Linked DNA regions of Homo sapiens: region 1 is linked to region 2. The links are contacts of gene promoters, found by promoter capture Hi-C in blood cells and fetal thymus (Javierre and others, 2016). All regions are on one chromosome and are shown on one strand. The core of a region is centred on a gene start or on the middle of the fragment in contact, and the rest is flanking DNA. Distances in the headings are between cores, read along the strand shown. Region 1 overlaps LOC102723714 (a long non-coding RNA gene). Region 2 holds the start of CYP11A1 (cytochrome P450 family 11 subfamily A member 1).

Evidence for each region. The method cuts DNA at HindIII sites, captures the fragments that hold promoters and counts their contacts. A CHiCAGO score of 5 or more calls a contact.
Region 1: a fragment that was not itself captured here is called in contact with the fragment with the promoter of CYP11A1 in region 2 in 1 of 17 cell types (fetal thymus); the score reaches 5.6 in fetal thymus.

Annotation. Positions count from the first base shown.
Region 1 is chr15:74,498,993-74,502,435 of GRCh38, reverse strand. LOC102723714 (a long non-coding RNA gene) reads right to left here. Exons shown (of 2, transcript XR_007064712.1): 2 at 1-276. Among named protein-coding and RNA genes, the nearest start is that of UBL7-DT, 39 kb to the right of the region's middle. The HindIII fragment of the contact is 1,120 bases long and covers 1,384-2,503 here.
Region 2 is chr15:74,366,316-74,369,534 of GRCh38, reverse strand. CYP11A1 (cytochrome P450 family 11 subfamily A member 1) reads left to right here and starts at 1,889. Exons shown (of 9, transcript NM_000781.3): 1 at 1,889-2,218. The coding sequence starts at 1,950. LOC124903524 (a long non-coding RNA gene) reads right to left here. Exons shown (of 2, transcript XR_007064709.1): 2 at 1-3,219. RefSeq lists enhancers at 1-19, 189-311, 1,733-1,757 and a promoter at 1-1,939. The HindIII fragment of the contact is 5,873 bases long and covers 1-3,219 here.

The sequences.
Region 1 (3,443 bases), core at 694-3,193, 130 kb before region 2:
TCCTGGGGTAGCCCACATTTGGTGACTGAGCAAGGCAGAGGTATAAAGGTCCAGCCATTTAAACTTGATGCTGGAAAGCCCTGATGAGCACTTCTCATTCTAGAGTGACCTGCTGATCGGCTGAGCTTGGTCGAGCCTGCAGCACAGGTTGACTTTCCCTCTGCCCAGTCCTGCTTTTTCTTCCTTCCTTTCACAGGTATGGGTCCTTAATAAACATTTTGCCTCCCAAACTCTATCTCAGCATCTCCTTCTTGAGAATCTGGTCTTCCACAGTTGCTACCAAAGTAGATGAGAAAGGAGATGGTAAGATGGGGTTTGGAACTGGATCACCACCCATCTGATGATGAGGATCCCATTAGTGGAGGTGGGCAGAGCACAGACAAATGGCAGCAAATTGGGAGAATGTACCAGTAGAACTGGATACTCTAAGGGCACAATGTGCCAGGTACTTGAGATGTATGGAGGGAGTAGTAGCTATGAGGATGATGGAATTGGTGGCTATTGCCAAGCTCCATGGATGTGCTACAGGATAATAAACAACTTAGGGCCAGTAACATGCATTAAAATCCAGGTTATGGGGCCAGGTGCAATGGCTCATGCCTGTAATCCCAGCACTTTGGGAGGCCAAGGCAGGTGGATCACCTAAGGTTAGGAGTTTGAGACCAGCCTGGCCAACATGGCGAAACCCCATCTCTGCTAAAAATACAAAAATTAGTCAGGCGTGATGGCACATACCTGTAGTCCCAGCTACTTGGGAGGCTGAGGCAGGAGAATTGCTTGAATCCGGGAGGCAAAGGTTATAGTGAGCCAAGATCGTGCCACTGCACTTCAGCCTGGGCAACAGAGTAAGATCATCTCAAAAAAAAAAAAAAAAAAAAATCCAGGTTATGAAAAGGAAAAGGCCTCTTTGGTTTATACAAATAAGCCAACATCTCTAGCAGTGAAAGGGTGGAGAAAAGCAAGGACAAAGCCTAGGACTTAATAATCTAAGCAACTGGCCAGGCGTGGTGGCCCACACCTGTAATCCCAGCACTTTGGGAGGCTGAGGCGGGCAGATCACCAGGTCAGGAGTTCAAGACCAGCCTGGCTAAGATAGTGAAACCCCGTCTGTACTAAAAATACAAAAAATTAGCTGGGCATGGTGGCGTGCGCCTGTAATCCCAGCTACTAGGGAGGCTGAGGCAGGAGAATCGCTTGAACCTGGGAGGCAGAGGTTGCAGTGAATGGAGATCGTGCCACTGCACTCCGGCCTGGGGGACAGTGCAAGACTCCATCTAAAATAATAATAATAATAATAATCTGAGCAACTGACTTCAAAGACAGTTAAATGTCCAAATAAGGCACATCTCTTATGCTAAAGTCAAAGTCCTGGTTGGAAAAGCTTGGGACCCTGACACGTGGAATGGAGATATCAGAGTGGATGCTCCTAAAGATTTTTTTTTTGAGACGGAGTCTCGCTCTGTCTCCCAGGCTGGAGTGCAGTGGTGTGATGTTGACTCACTGCAGCCTCTGCCTCCAGGATTCAAGCGACTCTCCTGCCACAGCCTCCCAAGTAGCTGGGACTACAGTCATGCACCACCATGCCCAGCTAGTTTTTTTTGTATTTTTAGTGGAGACGGGGTTTCACCATGTTGGCCAGGTTGGTCTCGAACTCCTGACCATAAGTGATCCACTCGCCTTGGCCTCTCCTGAATATTTTGACTCCACAAATTCCTCTGAATCTCCTGAGCCTACAGAATTGGCCCACTCCTCCCTAGTAAGAACTACCACTCTCTCCCTGCTGAGGGACAATGCAGTGCCTTTCTCCACAAAGCAACAGCTCCCCCTCAGAATCTGCCCCCACATTGCCTCCTAGCCTATACTAGGTTAGCTACAGCATAACCCAGCTGGAGAGGTGCTGGGTATGATAGGGGTGGAAAGGGACTATATGCCACAGAAATAGCAAGACCTAGCCAGCATGTATTGGCAGGAGCCAGGGAGATACATGTGGAACTGGATTCTGAGAGTGCTTGATGAAGGAGAAGGAATATAAAATTGGATAGGGAAGAGTTTATTGACTTGGGAATCCCTCTTTGTTTCTTTTCGTTTCTTTTCTTTCTTTTTGAGATGGAGTCTCACCCTGTCAGGCTGGAGTGCAATGGCGCAATCTCAGTTCACTGCAACCTCTGCCTCCCGGGTTCAAACAACTTTCCTGCCTCAGCCTCTCGAGTAGCTGGGATTACAGGCACGTGCCACCATGCCCAGATAATTTTTGTATTTTTAGTAGAGACGGGATTTCACCATGTTGGCCAGGCTGGTCTCGAACTCCTGACCTTGTGATCCGCCTGCCTCGGCCTCCCAAAGTGCCGGGATTTCAGGTGTGAGCCACTGCGCCCGGCAGGAATCTCTCTTTCAAAATACAAGATTTAACATCCTGGCAAGGACAATAGGAGATGGTACAATCTTACTACCAGGATGGATCCTAGAAGCATGGAAAAAGTGATGACCTATGCCAAAGAAAGCTTACATGCCGGAATTGCTATGGCAGATAGTGATGGTAGAATGAAAAGACTCAGGGAAATAGGTGTGCCAGAATGGATAGACTATAGGTAACCAGAAGATCTCCTAGCTAATTATGCCTCATGAGAAGGCCCAGAGAACACGTTTTCATCTGTTTTCTGTTGCTCTCACTGCATAGCACAGACTGGGTAGTTTATAAGAAGTTTACTGAGTTCATGGTTCTGGAGGCTGGGAAGCCCAAGAGCCTGAAGTCAGGATCTGGTGAGATCCTTCTTGCTGTGTCATAACATAGCAGAGAACATCACATGGTGAGAGGGCAACCAGAAAGATTCTGGTTACTCTTGCTTGCTTTTATAACAAAGCCATTCCCATGATAGAGCTTGCTTTTATAACAAAAAAACAAAGCTTGTTTTTATTGCAAAGCCATTCCCGTGATAACGAACCTACTCCCATGATAATGACATTACTCCATTCAAGAGGGCAGAACTCTCATTACTCCATATATTCATTCATGAGGGCAGAACTGACATTAATCCATTTATGAGGGGAGAACAATTAAGTTTCTAACACACAGATTTTTAGGGGCCACATTCAAACCATAACAACACACTACTTATCAAGGCCGTGAAGAATTTGCTGCCCGGCATGGTGGCTCACACCTGTAATCCTAGCACTTTGGAAGTCCGAGGTGGGTGGATCACTTGAGGTCAGGAGTTTGAGACCAGCCTGGCCAACATGGTGAAACCCTGTCTCTCCAAAAAAATATAAAAATTAGGCCGGGCGTGGTGGCTCACGCCTATAATCCCAGCACTTTGGGAGGCCAAAGTGGGTGGATCACTTGAGGTCAGGAGTTCGAGACCAGCCTGGCCAACATGGTGAAACCCCGTCTCTACTAAAAAATAGAAAAATTGGCCGGGCGCAGTGTCTCACGTCTATAATCCCAG
Region 2 (3,219 bases), core at 640-3,139:
GGGGTGGCTGCCAAGAGGACCACAAGTTCTTCCATGCCACATCGATTAGGGCTCCTTCTGAGGGAGGAATGTGGGGCTGCGTAGAACAATGGGATTGACTTTAAGTCAGAAAGTTATAAATGTCACCTCAGTGCTGAGACCCTTGGAGGAAAAACTAGTCCTTGGAAGACTGCTTTTCTTTGTGGAAGCTCATCACCCTGCCGCTGCTCGTGAGACACTGCCTTCCTTGGCTGATGTCATTCCAGGCTCAAGGTCATCAGTGAGGCAAAACAGGCTTTCTCCATACTCTCTTTATCAGAAGGTTCATGACTGATGAGGTAGTGGTCACTCCAGCGGGAAGAGCAACAACCACTCTTGATAAGTACTTTTTTTTTTTCTTCTAAAAACTGTTGCTCTAAATTTGTTGAAAGTGGTTCAACAGTATTGGAGTCTGGGGTCAAGTGGCTGTGTAAGGACAACTTTTGCCATTGTGGGTGATCTATGGGCTGACACATACAACAGAAGAGGCCAGGAGGATGTCACTCGTGTGTGTGTGTGTGTGTGTGTGTTTGGTAACAGCTCTATTGAGATATAATTCACACACCATACAATTCACCCATTTAAAGTATGCAATTCAATGGCTTTTAGTGTATCAGAGAGTTGTTCAATAATTACCACAATATACTTTAGAATATTTTCATTTTCATCATCCTAAGAATCCCTACACACTTTATGTCCCATCCTCTAATTCCTCTATCCCCCTAGCTCTAAGCAACCACCAGTCTATTTTCTGTCTCTTAGATGTGTGTTTTAAATGCCTTATTTGCCAGAAAATAAGATTTTGGGGAAAAAAAGCAAGAAGTTGTACCTTCCAATGATAAGTATAAGGTATAGTGTAGATTGCTGTCATGAAATGCTCTACATGGCACATGTATGTTTTCTGACCTACACATTTTTACCAAGTGGGCTGTAATTTTGTTGAAATGACTTGAAAACTCTACAGGTGACTGACCCTTGTTGTTTGGGAAAGTGGTAGGTGCAGGGTGATGGGGGGTGGGTGTGGGGGCTGACCTGGGCTGGAAGGATGGGTCTGGGGATATGATATGATGGGAGGGGGTATGGAAGCAGCTCTGAGGGGAAAGCAGCACAGATCAAGTGTGTGGACAGGGAAGAGCTGACATCCTGAGTTCCATGGCAACCAGATTTGCCAAGGTCTTAGAGTGTGTCCAGAGTGGAGCCTGACCACAGACCTCAGCTCAAGGGACCCAGAGCCCCTCTGAGTCAGCTGTACTGAATTACAGCCCCAAATCTGGGTCAACTGGGGAGAGACGACGAGGATTAGGGTTCCAAGGTGAAACTGTGCCATTGCGCTCCAGCCTGGGCAACAAGAATGAAACTCTCTTAAAATAAAATAAAATAAAATAAAATAAAATAAAATAAAATAGCCTAAGGATGCATTTCTCAGAACTTATCCCTGTTGTTCAATGATGTGTGTCTATACAGTGGGGCCATAACTAAGACGTATGTTGCCCAAGCTGGCAAGATAGCTCTGACCTTCTCTTGGGCCCCTCATTTCCCCCAAACACAGGTTGTCTGCAGTCTTGACCAATGGCTGCCAGGGCATGGACTCCGCTGCAGGGGCCAGTGGGAGGCCCCAGCTCAGGCAAAAGCACAGGCAGATATTTCAGGAGTCTGCTAGGGCTGGCACTGAGGGCAGAGACAGAGGGGTCTCCCTGTCCTTTGGAGAACCTCACGCTGCAGAAATTCCAGACTGAACCTTCATACCGAGTAGGGGAGGAGCTGTCTGCGGGTTTGAGCCTGCAGCAGGAGGAAGGACGTGAACATTTTATCAGCTTCTGGTATGGCCTTGAGCTGGTAGTTATAATCTTGGCCCTGGTGGCCCAGGGCTACAGTCATCCTAGCAGTCCCCGCTGAAGTGGAGCAGGTACAGTCACAGCTGTGGGGACAGCATGCTGGCCAAGGGTCTTCCCCCACGCTCAGTCCTGGTCAAAGGCTGCCAGACCTTTCTGAGTGCCCCCAGGGAGGGGCTGGGGCGTCTCAGGGTGCCCACTGGCGAGGGAGCTGGCATCTCCACCCGCAGTCCTCGCCCCTTCAATGAGATCCCCTCTCCTGGTGACAATGGCTGGCTAAACCTGTACCATTTCTGGAGGGAGACGGGCACACACAAAGTCCACCTTCACCATGTCCAGAATTTCCAGAAGTATGGCCCGATTTACAGGTAAGCCTGGCAGAGGGTGGGAGCCGAAGGGACAGGGAGGAGGAGGGGCCTGGGTAGCCCTGCTGTAGTCCCCACTCCCCCAACAGGCTGTTCTCTGGTTCCAAACTCCTGTCTAACTTCTTTTTTTTTTTTTTTTTTGGTAATACAATACAGAAATATATCAGGGATATTTCAAAATTCAACATTTGAATCTGTGAATGTCTTAAGTACTCTAAACCAGACATCTACTTTTGAAACAATTGGTGGCAAGACCGCCAGCCATCTGTAAGGAAGCTCTTTAATGGGTCCAAACCCCAGGTCTGGCCAGGCATGGTGGCTCACACCCATAATCCCAGCACTTTGGGAGGCCGAGGTGGGCGGATCACTTGAGATCAAGAGTTCGAGACCATCCTGGCCAACATGATGAAACCCCGTCTCTACTAAAAATACAAAAATTAGCTGGGTGTGGTGGCAGGCGCCTGTAATCCCAGCTACTCGGGAGGCTGAAGCAGGAGAATGGCTTGAACCGGAGAGGCAGAGGTTGCAGTGAGCCGAGATCGCACCATTGCAATCCAGCCTGGGCGACAGAGTGAGATTCTGTCTCAAACAAAACAAAACAACCTCCTCGGTCTGAGGAGGGGAGACTGGTGAGGCTAAGTTTTGAATTCCTGGCCCTGTAGCTGTCAGCCCAGCCAGCGAGTTTTAAAAATTGGGAGAAGGCCGGGTGCGGTGGCTCACGCTTGTAATCCCAGCACTTTGGGAGGCTGAGGCAGGCGGATCACTTGAGGACAGGAGTTCGAGATCAACCCGGCCAACATGGTGAAACCCTGTCTCTACTACAAAAATAAATAAATAAATAAATAAATAAATAAATAAAATAAAAAAAATTAGCCGGGCATGGTGGCGGGGGTCTATAATCCCAGCTACTCGGGAGGCTGAGGCAGGACACTCGCCCGAACCCAGGAGGTGGAGGTTGCAGTGAGCCGAGATCATGTCACTGCACTCCCGCCCTGGGCAACAAA